Regions from separate parts of the Homo sapiens genome. Here region 2 is linked to region 1. The links are contacts of gene promoters, found by promoter capture Hi-C in human tissues and cell types (Jung and others, 2019). All regions are on one chromosome and are shown on one strand. Each heading gives the region's core, a stretch centred on a gene start or on the middle of the fragment in contact. The rest is flanking DNA. Distances are from core to core; before and after follow the strand shown.

Region 1 (7,240 bases), core at 2,625-5,124:
AGATCACCCACCCTAAACTGAACCGCGTGATTTCCAGGGAAACCCCACAACTAATGGTTCTGACAACTTGGCATCCACTTTTCTAGAAATAAGGCAGATCAACATAAAAACCTATCTTAAAGTGCCAGCTATTCTCTAAATAGAGGGAATTAAGTCACATATATGCTCAATCTTTGGAACTGGCAACACTTTTACTTACATAGTGGCACCCAATTTTCTCTCCTGGGATGGAAGTCCTCCTCAGTCCCTGCTATGAGATATTACAGTTATGGGAGAATTTGATAATAATATAATAGTAATCTAATAGTCTAGCAATTATTCAAATTGACCCTTTAATTTCTGATTGGTATGACCTACCAGTATGAAATTACTTTAGGCAAAATAAAAAAAATATTCTAGTGAGTGTATATAGGAGGAGTCCTTAACCTGGGACCCATGAGCTTCTTAAAATATATGCAAATTATATGCAATGTTTTGTTGCTATGTGGTACACGGTTTTAGGAGTCCTTTTGGAATATAGCTTTCACGGGGATTTGTGGCCCCATAAAAGGTCAAATGTCATTGCCAAATAACCTTACAGTATTTGACTATCTTAAAAATCCTGGTAGTGATTTTTAAAAATTCTAGTAGTGATTAAAACCAGCAAACCTTTTTCAACTCCTGGAAATCCCAGAACCTTAGGTTGAGTGCCACTATGAAGAAATCATGTCATGTGAATTGTAAATCCCTCAGTAGTCTCTTCCTGACCAGTTTTCAGTGTCCCCCTCAAAAAGAATCACAAGTCACTGAATTTCTCTTTTATTTAAGCATTAAGAAATTGGAGCATAGCGACTTAGAAAACTTTCTCAAAATGTCCTTAACAGCAATGAAAAGATATCATGTGTCACGTGTAAAACCTTTTTTCTGTTTGTTTTTTATTGAAGCTCATTGACCAGGGAAACATAAATGTTCCACTCATCTGCTTTTAAAGTAGAGAACAAGGCCCACAAACTCTATTTAATAAATACAAATTACTAAAAATGCGCTTAGTGTTGTATTGTGGCCAGTTAAGAACAGGAGATGCTGGGACAGAGCCTACAGAAAGGGCGGGAGAAGAAAGGAAATCAAAATGAAGCAGCTGACAGGGACGTCAGGGAGACACACAGGTGCAGTGACAGCCACACTGCAGCAGAAGCTCAGCTTGGAAGACAGAGGCTGCAGAAAGTCGGTCCCTCTAGGATGCCACCAGGGAAAAGTCTTCAAAATGTTGTTGTTACTGTGACCAAGGGCAGAAGTCTAGGCATCTTAATTATTGGTATTTGCACTAAGTGCAAGACGAGACCAAGTTGAGCCACTCCTGCCCTCGGCTCGGAGTCAGTGCACTCTTGCTCCACCCTCTCAGCTCCAGACCGTGTGCCCTGCCCAGGACGGCGCACTCAGAGACCATCTGGGTGGGGGTGGAACAAGAGCAGCACCGTCACTTGCATAAGCATTGCTAGTTTTGCCCCTCTAGAATTAATATATTCATTTTAAGTAAAAGAAAACTTATCTCCAAATTCAAAGAAGTTATTCAATGGGTAGGTTTTTTTCTGTTTTTGCAACTCATCTGGCAGCTGACCTAGCTCCCAATGAATTAAATGCTTCACATCTAACTAAATGTGTGCCTAGAATTAGAGAGAGAGAGAGAGAGAGACAGTGTGTGTGTGTTATTAGAGCAAAGACCTCCACAAGAAAAATACAAAATCTGTTTTAAAAATGTAAGGCTTCAATTTAAAATACAATTAAGACTTGATACATTTAAAGTCTATCAAGATAAACATTAAACCAGTTATTGGCTTTTACAAAGTCAGTCAAAAATTGAGGTAATACATTACTCTTTTATAACCAGCCTTATCTGATTATAACATTTTATTTCCTTCTCATCCTTCTAGTTAGATATTCTCAGATACATGGAAGAAATATGTAGAAATCAGCCTCCAGTTAGCGGGGGAAAGGATATGGTTACGAAACAGCGGAGGAGCTTTACTCTCTATTCAAATAATACACAGAAAAAATGTAATCAGCCGAGCGGTTTCCATGGAAGCGCTCATTGACCAGGGCTCACCAGCGCCTGGCGATGCCTACCCTTCCGCTTTGGAGACTGGAAATTCGGTTAACTGAGTTTCAGGGATGTCTAATACCCTCAACATTTTTCTGACTTGGGAGAAAACAAAATCACGAATGTAGGACCGGGTCCCAGCTCTGCAGGAGGCCACCGTCGCGGCCACCCACCTGGGCCATCGCCCACCGCACTGTCCAGGGTGCCCGGCGCCGGCTGAGGGTGACACCACGGGGCGTGCAGATGTAGCCCTGGGGAAGGCCCGCCTCCAGGCAGAGGGTCTCTGGGACCTAGACGAACCCTGGGGGTCGGGGCACCAAGAGGCATTTTCTCAGTTGCTTAATTCCCCACGAACTGCATGGATGCTCGGCGATGCCAAGAGGAGGCCAGAGTGGGGGCAGAGGCAGGCATCTGGGGTAGATACCACCGGTGTGAACGAGAAAGGCCCGGGCTGCCGGCTGGCGAGGGCAGGAGGGGGGCCGTGGCCGTCGGGCGAGTCTGGCTGCGCCCCACGTGGGCCAGCTTGCGCACTGGTGTCCCGAAAGTGGGCGCTGGCGGCCAGAGGAGCCTGCGGTCTCCCCCGAGGGCCCCTAGGCGGAGTGGCGCGTGCAGGAAGTGAGGTGGGATCAGGCCTGGCCTGTCCCCGCAGGCCCGCTGGGCTCACAGCGTGCTCAGGTGCCGCCGTGAGTCCAGGGCCCCCGCCCGGCCCCGCGCGGCAGCCGCGGACTCCACGCCGCGCAGCCACTCCGTGCACTTGCGTACCAGGCCCTCGTCCACCGCCTCTGGCTCCTCCTCGTACTCCACGTCGTCGTACCTGTGCCGCTCGTTGAGCAGCGACACCTTGAGCATCGGCCGCAGGGCCCCGGGCCGCGGGCTGAGCTGGGGAACCTGCAGGCCGCCGTGCAGCAGCTGGGCGCCGGGCGGAGGCGCGCGGCGGCCCTGGCCGGCGGTGGGGGGTGCGTCGGGGTCGCTGGCGGGGCCGCCCCTCCGCGGGCCCGCGGCCCTAGCCGGGAGACACGGGGCGAGTAGGCGCCTGGGTTCGGCCGAGGGTGAGGGGAAGGGCCTGCGGGGCCGCGCCAGCAGCTGCTTCTCCAGATGACGCTTCTGGATGACCAGGACGGCCTCGGGGGTGAGATTCAGGCAGAAGCGCGCAGCGGAGTCTGGACAAGGCCCCGCCCCCGAGGAGGTGCCCGCGGCGGTGGTCCCCGTCCCCGCCGAGGTCGCCGCATAGGTGGTCCTCGCTGGGCTGTGGCCGGAGCCTGCCGGCCGGGGCGGGGCGCACGTGGCTGGGGCCCGCGCGCGGCTGGGCAAGGCCTGGGGGGAGACGCCCGGAGGGGCCGGCGGCTGCGTCCTGTCCAGGCCGGGGCCGCGCCGGGCCGGCGGCCTCTTGAGCGTGGCGGAGGGCCAGGAGCTGGAGAGGAGCCCCTCGGGCCGCTGTGGGGGCCTCTTCTTCTTGTCCCCCGCGGCGCAGGGCCTCCGGGGTAACTGGCGCGCGGCTTGGGCCCCCGGGGCGGGGGCGGGCGGCGGCGGCATGGGCGGGAAGGGCATAGTGCAGCCGAGCCGCCGGATCCTCAGCCCCTGGAAAGAGAGGCGGGCGCTCAGCCACTGTGCGCGGAGCGGGTCCCCGCAGTCCGGGCGGCCCCTCCACACCCACCTGCGTCCAGCCGCGGCCTCTCCGGCTTCCTCACATCCCAGCGACCAAACCCGGGGACTCAAAGAGAGGCGCTCCCACCCTCCCCTCCTCCTGGGGGTGCTCCCGGGACTGGACCCTGCAGGAACCGCCTCCCGCCGTCCGACTGTGGGCGAGTCGCGGCGCCCCCGGGTCCCCACAGCTGAGACGCGGGCCGGGCCGGCAGGAGGAGGAGCCCAGCGCGCTCGCTAAGGACGCGGCCCTGCCAGGCCCCGGGCTGTGCCCGGCTGGTGTCACGACCGACTGTTGAATGGGAGCAAAGTGCCAGGACAGCGGAGGGCGGAGCGCGCGCCAGGCATCCCGGGGCTCCCCCAGCTGGCGCTCCGGTGGTCCGAGGTTAATGTAGTCCGTCGAAAGCCAGGAGCATTCCCCTGGGGGAGCCGGCAGCCTTCCGGAGTCACAGGTGGAGGCCCTGCACGTTTCAGAGAAAATCCCCTGTAGCCTCTCCGTGCCTTCGAGACGGCGGGAAAGGCACCGCCAGTAGATGCAGCTCTGCGGCCCCGGACACATCCTGCTTCACAGAGAAAAGCGGGCTGGAGCTGAGAGGGGAGAAATGACCCTCAGTGAATCTTACATAGTGTTCATGCCACCCCTTGAGGAGTCACTTTCAAATTCAAAACCTAAGTATCTATGAACAGGCAAAATAGTTCAGTTTCAGCTATATAATGCTGATTACATGGCAAATATTAGACATCAAGTCCCTTTAATAATTCTTATGAGCAAAGCAATATATTTATCACTGTAGCAGAGATTCAGAATTAATGAGATAAATCTTCACTGTCAATTTACATTCTAGTCGTAGACACATGAAGACATCCTACAATATTCAAATGTTTGTTTAATAAATAATTGAACAATTGCAAAGTGACGGATCAAAAAGTCAACATTTCATGTGTGCAGTCCCTGCATTACTTAAGGATAATCATCAGCTGCTTAGATCTCCACAAAGTACTTTCCATCAGATACACTTTTCTGATGGAAACCAGGTGTGTGATGGTTACGGCCCCAGGTTAGCTCCAGAGCACATTCAACTGTGGGTAAACACAAATGTGCCCTGTGCCAACAGTCACAGCAGGACAGCATGGCCCTCCCCCAGCCGCCTCAGTCTCCGAGGCAGCAGCAACGCCTCCCCTTGTTGACTGTTGGTGGCCTCAGAGAACTGCGCTGTGGATACATGGGAGCGTCAAGGAAACCTGGCAGGTGGTGGGAAACACTTCTCACCAGAGCTTGGGTTGGGGTGACAGGTTTGGGCCCTGTCATCTCTACCAGCACCTCCCAAGCCACCCCAATACAGCTCTGAAACAAGCCTCCCAGCTCACAGGCACTTTCCCTCCATCCCTGCCAGCCTGTCTCTGCCGGTGGGCTCAGGCTGTTAATCGGCTTGACAGGTGAGGTCCTAAGATACTGAAACCTCCTCCTCAATATGTTTTATTCCAGGTTTTAGAATCTCTGGATGGGTGTGGGAAGAGGCACGTCAGTGGCGGCAGGAGGCCCACAGTTCTGTGCCTGGAAAGTGGAGAACTGGAAGAGAAGGTGAGGCAGGAGAGGATGGGGGTGGGGCGGGGGGCGGTATCAAATATCATTTATGGGGGCACAGCTGGAGAGGCAGGCTATGGAGAAAAATCAGCAAACACTTGGACACTCAGACATCTGAGTTTGGAGCCCCGCAGTTCAAAAGCTGTGACGGTGCTGGTGGGGTCTTCTCTCCTTCCTGTCTCCTTACTCTTAGGATGCTTCAGAAGGAATGACAGTTTTGGGGTGAGAATGGGTTGGTGGCCTCATAGTAATGCTCCCGACTTCCACTGCTGTCTCCATTCTGCTGGGACACTGGTCGTACAGAGGCGAGGTAGCTACGCAACTGCCATCACACAGCTCTAACGGGACGGAGGAGATAAGACTCCACCCCAGGAGTGCGAGTCCAAGGCCAGATTGCAACTTTTACACTAAAGCTGAGAGGGAAAAAGTCTTGGTAGATCAGGGTGATTGGATTAAGTGACCTCTCACCCACAAACTAGTAGCGATTTGGGCCTTTTTAAGCCAAGAAAAGTGATAGTTTATCAGATTAATGCACGTGTCTGACCAGACAAGAACTGGGATTCTCCAAGCCCTCCCAGACGTCTCATACCAGCCCAGAAGCTTGGAGACATGGAAAGCTGTAAGTTTGTGTGACCCTTGAGAGGCAGAAAAGTACATTCTGAGTGTCCGCCACCTCATCACCAGGCCAGGTAGGAGGGGCAGTGCCTCTTCCCTGTCTCCCCAGAACCCTCAGAGCAAAGCATGCTCCTACGAGGGGTTCTGAGCTCTGGGTTCTCATGGCGGGTTGCTGCCCCAGGAGTACGGAGGAGTTAGCATTGCCGACGGACTATCCCCTCTTCAGACTCTGATAAAAGCACCCAAATGACAGCATCGCTTGTCCCCTGCCCAGCTACTTCTGCTACTTGAAACCTTCAGCTCCTTGTAAATTAGAAGTTAGAAAGATTGGCTTGGGCCTGAAACAGAATGCGTGAAAGCAGCCTCTGTCGCTGGCCCTCACTGGTGCTGTGGCTGTTAAAGAATCCGTTACAAATACCCTTCGGCTGATGCAAGCAGCCAGCAGCAGTTCCCAGCAAGGAAAGCCACGCCAGAGAGATGGCTGCGTTTAACTTCAGGACAGCAGGTGTAACTGAAAAGCGGTTAAAGAAATATAGTAGCTGGGTACAGTAGTTCACGCCTGTAATCCCAGCACTTTGGGAGGCCAAGGCGGGTGGATCACCTGAGGTCATGAGTTCGAGAACAAGCCTGACCAACATGGTGAAACCCTGTCTCTACTAAAGACACAAAAATTAGCTGGGAGTGGTGGCACGCGCTTGTAATCTCAGTTACTCAGGAGGCTGAGGCAGGAGAATCACTTGAATCCGGGAGGTGGAGGTTACAGTAAGCTGAGATCGTGCCATTGTACTCCAGCCTTGGCGACAGAGAAATACTCCATCTCAAAAAAATAAATAAATAAAAATAATGTAAAATTTAGCTTATAATTTACAAGGGATTTCTCATAGCTTGCCCAGAACACAATAATTATAACTATTCATATGTAATATTAAATAGTAAAGCTTGGGTACTAGAATACTGAGATCAGCTAATCTGTCTCAGAACTAGATTTTGGGGTTCACCTGAACAAGAGCTGATCTCTAAAATGCATGATTACATCTTATCTTGCATGATTACATCTTATCTAAATTTACTGTCTCAAATAAGTTGATTTAAAAGGTCAACTAACCAAAACCAAATACAGTTTACCCTTGAACACCATGGGTTTGAACTGCGAGGGTCCACTTACAGGAGGATTTTCCTCTGCCTCTGCCACTCCTGAGACAGCAAGACCAACCCCTCCGCTTCCTCCTCAGCCTACTCAAGGTAATGGTGATGAGGATGAAGACCTTCATGATGATCCACTTCAATACTTAAGAATAGTAAATGTATTTTCTCTTCTTCAT
Region 2 (7,240 bases), core at 1,361-3,860, 61 kb after region 1:
CTAGACACTTTTTTTGTCTCCTGGAGTTGCTTATAATCCATTCATTATCTGAAAGAATTGTTATTTATTCCCTCCACAATAGTTTTATGTTCAAATATCAGGGTTTCAAGTCAGTTTAATGACAGTTTCCCCCAAAAAAGTTCACAATATAAATCATTAAAGTGACTATTAGAATGATTCAGATGACACAGTCTTCAGTTCAGTGTGCTAAATCTGAAAGGCAAATAAGATGTTACTACTTCCTAGATAAATATTTCTAATTAATCTTGTTTCTTACTGACATAGAGAAGTAACACTCTTCCATGCCATCACATTCTGTATGTGACTTTCTAATAGTGACTGTAACATCTAGTGCTACAATCTTGAAATGCAAGCAGGAGCTCTACTATGTTGAAAGTCCTCCCAATTATCCAAATCTGCATTCTTACCAAATGTCATCCGCCCACTGATAATCTCTGGAGACTTTTTCATATCATTGATGGCAGCAATGGGAAGACCCCAGTTGGCTACTGGGCCCCAGAAGTGCTACAAAAAATGAGAGGAAAAGAATGAAGAGAGGAAAAAGTTAAGACAGAACTATAAACAGCTGAAATTTCCCTTACTTTAAATAATCACGTGAAACTCGTGAGAACAAATCTTCGTTTCCATCTTGCAGGTTTACTGGGTTAATTGATGGTTAACATTTAGGTATTGGATTGTCCAAGTGTTCCTGTAGGAATCAGCAGTTCTTACAGCTGAGCCCAGAGCTAGAAAGGGTTTGGCAGCTTCCCAAGGTCCCTACTGGTTTCCACACTACAACCAAGTCATCTCTGATTGTCCTATTTAGAACATTTAAAAATAAAAATAAGATTCACTTCTTACACAATCCATTGTTGCTATAATTCAAACCCTGTTAGAACTATTCTCCATATTTTTATGTTTAAATCTATCCACACTCCTTTTCCCAAATTTTTATGAAGATATTTGTTAATAATTCTTAAAATGCAGACCCTAAATTGGGTACTTTTCTGAAGAAAGAAGCTTAATAAGAGAATAAATTGTTTTTCAGCTCATATGAGCTATTCTAAGATAAAATAACTTGGAAATCAATGCCCAGGACCCCAGACACTAAGAAATTAAGATTGGAAAGTACTTTTGACATAATAGCAAAAACTTATATTAATATTAAAGAAATGAACCAATAGTTTTTCATTCCACAACTACACTCATCCAAGGATACCAAAGTGAAGTCGTCTGTGTTTGACAGCAGCCACAATCAATTTAATTTTAGAGGCTGAAATAAAATAAGGCTTGTGGCTTTTGTTCATTAAAGATGAAAAATTGTTTCATTAATTTAGAATTTGGAAATAATATTTTCAAATCTGAAAGGAACCACATCTTGTTGGCTAAACACCCCTTTTAGTTATCCTAACACTAAAGAGTAAAAACAGTCTTTGCTTGACTTCTGCCTATCATAATGTTTAGGTTAAATTCAGACTTTGCTTCTACTATTGACGAGGGGTTAAAATCCAAAGATTCCCTAAAAAGTGGTAAACCAAGGGAAATATAAGAAAAATAAATGGGAATTAGATTTGGCATAATAGAATATTTAAAAATGTTTATTTAACATGAAAGCCACAAGGTCATTTAGATAACTACAAAAGGTCAAAGTTCCCACATAGCCATCACCATAAGTATTTCAGGGTTTAACATGTGAGTTATAAACTCTGTAAATTAGGCACAGTTGGTTTAAAGAATCTTGAGATTCTGGGCTGGCTAATTAGTTATCTTGCATTCAGACTGCATGTTATCTAAGATACTCACTACTGCAACTTTCACTTAATTTCTTACATTTAGACGAGGTGACTAGTGGCTCTCAAATTGGACAGCAAGGCTTTGGAGGAAATATTTCTTTGAAAATGACAAGTTGGGTCGGGTGCAGCGGCTCACGCCTGTAATCCCAGCACTTTCGGAGGCTGAGGCGGGTGGATCACGAGGTCAGGAGTTTAAGACTAGCCTGGCCAACATGGTAAAACCCTGTCTCTACTAAAAATATAAAAATTAGCCAGCGTGGTGGCAGGTGACTGTAATCCCAGCTACTTGGGAGGCTGAGGCAGAGAACTGCTTGAACCCGGGAGGTGAAGGTTGCAGTGAGCCAAGATTGCACCACTGCACTCCAGCCTGGGTGACAGAGCGAGACTCCGTCTCAGGGAAAAAAAAAAAAAAAAAAAGAAAATGACAAGTTGGAGAGAAGTACACTCCTGCAGAATTCTATTAACAATGACCCTTAATTTCTTACATTTAGATGCAATATGGCCAGTTTTCTTTTTTCCTTATTCCCCAGACTTTTGTAAGGGAGAGTATCTATCTCTCCCTTACCTACTTACTTCTTTTCTTACCCGTCCTGTTATTGGGTGTCACTTCATTTTTCAACTCTCTATTATTCCATAGTGATCTTCCTTTTCCTCCTTTTTTGACCAGGCCTTTCTCCACTTGGTCTATTTTCATCTCCTTTTCCGTTTACTCTCTTGCCACTCCTCTGCACTGTATGGTGGTGTTGCTGTCTACTTTATCATGCATGAACCCAGGGCTATAAACAGAGCCTGAAGAGTTATTCTAAGAGGGGCATATAAACCACAGTTTCTCTACCACTGGTTGTGAATGTGTCTTCTTTCATAGGTGGGGCTAAAGCAGAAATGGACAATGGAATAAATCTAAACCTAAAGTAGCCTTGGGAGATTCCTGGCTAAGTGATGTTATTAAAAGTTTAAGTATGGGCCGGGCATGGTGGCTCACACCTGTAATCCCAGTACTTTGGGAGGCTGAGGCAGGCGGATCATGAGGTCAGGAGTTTGAGACCAGCCTGACCAACATGGTGAAACCCCGTCTCTACTAAAAATACACAAATTAGCTGGGTGTGGTGGCTTGCACCTGAAATCCCAGCTACTAGGGAGGTTGAGGCAGGAGAATCGCTTGAACACGTGAGGCAGAGGTTGTAGTGAGCCAAGATAGTGCTACTGCACTCTTGCCTGGGCAACAGAGCAAGACTCCATCTCAAAAAAGAAAAAAAATTAAAAAAATAAAAAGTTTAAGTGTGATGAGTGTTAGGTTATAGGAAACAGTTCTGCAAGTTAAGAACTATACATACACTTATGACTGTAAGTGTTGAGCTATACTGAAAATATGTTTCTTAAGAAGAACACGAAAGGTAAAAATCATTTTAACACTAGTTTACTAAAATACCTAACCTTAGAAAGTTTATAATGCATCTTTTCTATCTAGTACAATATTCTAGTTCTCTCTTCCCTTTTTTAGAATACAATTGATTTATGCTGTCAGATATTCAGCAGTCAATTTTGAGAAAAATAAGGAACTTTATTAAAATTCAAAAAGAAATTAACATATGTTGGATTAAATGGAAAACATTTTACTTGATTATAATTCTTAATTGTGCTGAAAAGAAAGTTCCAACAGAATTATACAACACCATCTCCTGTGTGAAAATCAAGCCATGGAAATGAACTCCACCCTACAGGAAAAAATCATCCCACCCTTCTTTTCCTGCTTTCTCTTTTTCTTTCTCTATTTCCTTTCATCGGTTGCTAGGCTCCACTGTGACTGTTATCAATGAAGTAATTATATGCTTGTTTCTAAAAACAGGAGTAGGGAGCAGCCCCAGGAGCATGGCTGTCACAGAGCTCGTGTCTAGGCTCCCCAGGACAGGCCAGGGTGCAGTAGGCACCCTTCACAACCTGCCAGCCATGGCGGCTAGAAAGGCTCTCATATGCAAAGGATGCTAAGCCTGTTACCCCTAACTCTGTTAATGCAGAAAGTCTGCAAAAGCCTGAAATGGATGGAAATAATTTTCTTACCGTACTATTTTGTGAAGAGTCACCGAAGTTCAGACAGGACAGACATGGAAAAAAAAGAAACAAAAATCAAATGATTTTGGTCTTATTAGGTTACTGCAACCTCACACCTGTATTCAAATTTCAGTAACAGGACTACAACGTTAACAGTGTACATTCTTTTATTATTTTTAAAAGATCAAGTAATATTATTTCTAATAAGAACTTTGACTTCATGAAATTAGATCTTAGTTTTATGGAAAATAAGTGCAATCCTTAGAGCAGAACTGTCCAATAGAAATATAATGCAAGGCAGAAATACAAGCCACGTACGTAATTTACAACTTCTAGAAGCCACATTAAGAAAACTAAAAAGAAGGCCGGGGACAGTGGCTTATGCCTGTAATCCCAGCACTCTGGGAGGCTAAGGCAGGAGGATTGCTTGAGGCCAGGAATTCACTATTAATCTGGGCAACATAGTGAGACCCCATCTATACACAAATATATTTTAAAAATTAGCTGGGCATGGGTGGTTTGTGCCTCCAGAGGATTGTTTGAGCCCAGGAGTTCAAGTCTGCAGTGAGGTATGATCACACCACTGTACTCCAGCCTGGGCAACAGAGCAAGACCCTGTCTGGAAAAAAAAAGGAAAAGAAAAGTAGAAAAGTAAAAAGAAACCACAGAAATTACTTGTATTAATATTTATTTAATCCATATGTATGCAAAAAACATTTTAATTTCAAAATGTAATCAATAAAAACTATTCATTAGACCTTTTACATGCTTTTTCATACAATTATTTGGACTCTAGTGTGTATTTTACACTTACGGCACATCTCAGCTTGAACTAGTCACATTTCAGGTGATCAGTAGCCACCTGTGGCTAGTGGCTCTCAAATTGGACAGCACAGCTTTCGAGGAAATATTTCCTTAAAAGTGGTAAGTTGGAGAGATGCATACTGTTGCAGAATTCTATTAACAATGAAACTTTCCCTTCTGCTTACTAACACATTGCACCAGAATGTGAACCCCTGGAGGGATGTATTTTTGTTACTACTGGACTACTTAAAGTAGGGCCTGGCATTTAAACTGGAATTTAAAAAATATTTATTGAATGAATGAATGAATAGTAAAAATGTCAATGCTGTTTTCCAGAATGTTAAATTTAAAAATACACCAAAAACTTATATTGAGTTACTTTTATTTCTGAAATAACAATTTCTCTTGCCAGGATATACCTGAGCTCTTCTCTTAGGGCAAAATCTCAAAGTTGAGCTACTGAAAGAGTTATTGAAATAAAATAATAAAATTGAGCAGTACGGCAGGGGGAAAAATGAAATAATAAAATCCTTTATAAACAGACTCAAGTCCAAAGAATTCTACTAGTTGTTTTGTTTTAGAGAGCACAGAGATTATAATTTGTAACATGAAAATAATTGTTGATGGTGCTAATAATACAGTAGTCCCCCTTATCCTCAGGGGATGCATTCTAAGACCTCCAGTGGATGCTTGAAACCGTGGATAATACGGAACCCTATATATACTATGTTTTTCTCCTATACATACATACCTATGATAATGTTTAATTTATAAATTAGGCAGAGTAAGAGATTGACAACAATTACTAATAATAAAATAGAATAATTATGACAATGAACTGATATAAAAATTTTGAGAATGTGGTTACTCTCTCTTTCACAATACTGTAATATTTTTTTGGACCACAAATGGCCCTGAGTGACTGAATCCATAGAAGGAGAAACTGCAGATGAGGGGGTACTACTATGTGCTTCAGATAGGTTATATTATGAAATATATATCATTCATATATATACAAATATAATTATCCAAATTATATTTCACAGCAAGTACAAACTGACCACAATGCTTTATAGCAGAGAGATTGATAACCTTACCAGATGAGACAGCATAATCTAGCTAGAACAGTCAGTCACCTACGGCATTGCTCTCCTTCAAATACCTTTGTCAGTATCTGAACACTGGCCCTTTAGGTAACTATGAATAACCAAGGGCACATTTTTTCCCTATAAAAATATTTTAAAGGATGTCGTACTTACAATGTGAAGTTTCAACTTGGACATAACTTAGTTTTTCCTTTAGGACTCTCTCCTTAAATCATACAACAGCTTGATTATACCCTATTTTACAACAGATTACAAATGTATGAGAATAAGGGAGATTATAAATGTATGAGAATAAGGGAGAATTACAAATGTATGAGAATAAGGATTAGTATAGATTACACATGTATGAGAATAAGGGAGAATTAACTTCTGCCTTCATACCCTGCTCAGTTCAAAAGTCCTACATGAATATAATCACATTAATTACTGTAAAACAATCTGAGAGTAAAGTCAGTTTAAATATGTCTGTTAAATACAAAACACTACAACTCAACATCCCTCAATTCTAAGTCAGGGTTTTCTAGAATGCATGAATCAACAACTCAATCAAAATATCTGAAAAGCATATTTGTGCAGAACCAAATTAGAAAAAAAAATGCTTCCAAATATGTATTATTACCTGTTTCAAAAAAAAAAGGGGAGATAAATTTATAAGCCACATATAAACTGCAATTTGGGGACAGTAATGCAAAACCATTTAGAAAATATTCTTGATTTTCTCTTTATTTGGTATGCTGCCTTTATTTTCAGTAAAAAAGCAAACAAACACAAAACTCATAGACTTTCTTGGGTTCACTTATGATTTTGAATTCTCATGGAGGAGAAACTATATTTCCAGTTAAAAATTAAGTATTCTGTTTTTTTAAAAAATAAACTTAATTTTTCAGAAAAGTTTTAGGTTCACAGTAAAATTGAACCAAAGTACAGAAACCTTCCATATACACCCAGCCCCGAAACATGCACGCACTCTCCCATTATCTACATCCCCCGCCCATGGTGTATTTATCACAATCACGAAACTTACATTGACACAGGATTGTTACCCAAAGTCCATATCTACATTAAGGTTCCCTGTTAGTGCTGTACATCGTGTGGGTTTAGATGAACATACGATGCCACGCGTCCATCATCATAGTGTCTTACAGTAGTTTCACTCTCTAAAAATCCTCTGTGCCCCACCTCAACCCTTGCAACCACCGATCTTTCGACTAGCTCCATAATTTTGCCTTTTCCAGAACGTTGTGTAGTTGGAACCAGGTAGTATGCAGCCTTTTCAGACTGGCTTCTTTCATGCAGTAATATGAATTTAAGTTTCCCTCATGTCTTTTCATGGTTTCATAGCTCACTTTTTAGTGCTGAATAATATTCCATTGTCTGGAGGTACCACAATTTATTTTGCCATTCACCTACCAAAGGACATCTTGTTTGCTTCCAAATTTTGGCAGTTATGAATAAAACCTCTATAAAAATCCACATACAGGTTTTCGT

What was found. The method cuts DNA at HindIII sites, captures the fragments that hold promoters and counts their contacts. A contact is called where the count stands out against the background at its distance.
Region 2: a contact is called between a fragment that was not itself captured here and the fragment with the promoter of PRR18 in region 1, in 2 of the 25 tissues and cell types used here (hippocampus and neural progenitor cells).

What each region holds. Positions count from the first base shown.
Region 1 is chr6:166,304,518-166,311,757 of GRCh38, forward strand. PRR18 (proline rich 18) reads right to left here and starts at 3,875. Exons shown (of 1, transcript NM_175922.4): 1 at 783-3,875. The coding sequence starts at 3,625. The coding sequence ends at 2,738. It overlaps LOC107986669 (a long non-coding RNA gene), which reads left to right and starts at 3,031. Exons shown (of 3, transcript XR_001744464.2): 1 at 3,031-3,206; 2 at 5,205-5,300. RefSeq lists a silencer at 3,358-3,957 and an enhancer at 4,028-4,307. The HindIII fragment of the contact is 9,550 bases long and covers 1-6,379 here.
Region 2 is chr6:166,366,367-166,373,606 of GRCh38, forward strand. MPC1 (mitochondrial pyruvate carrier 1) reads right to left here. Exons shown (of 5, transcript NM_016098.4): 2 at 3,852-3,855; 3 at 429-525. Among named protein-coding and RNA genes, the nearest start is that of MPC1, 13 kb to the right of the region's middle. The HindIII fragment of the contact is 7,670 bases long and covers 1-6,445 here.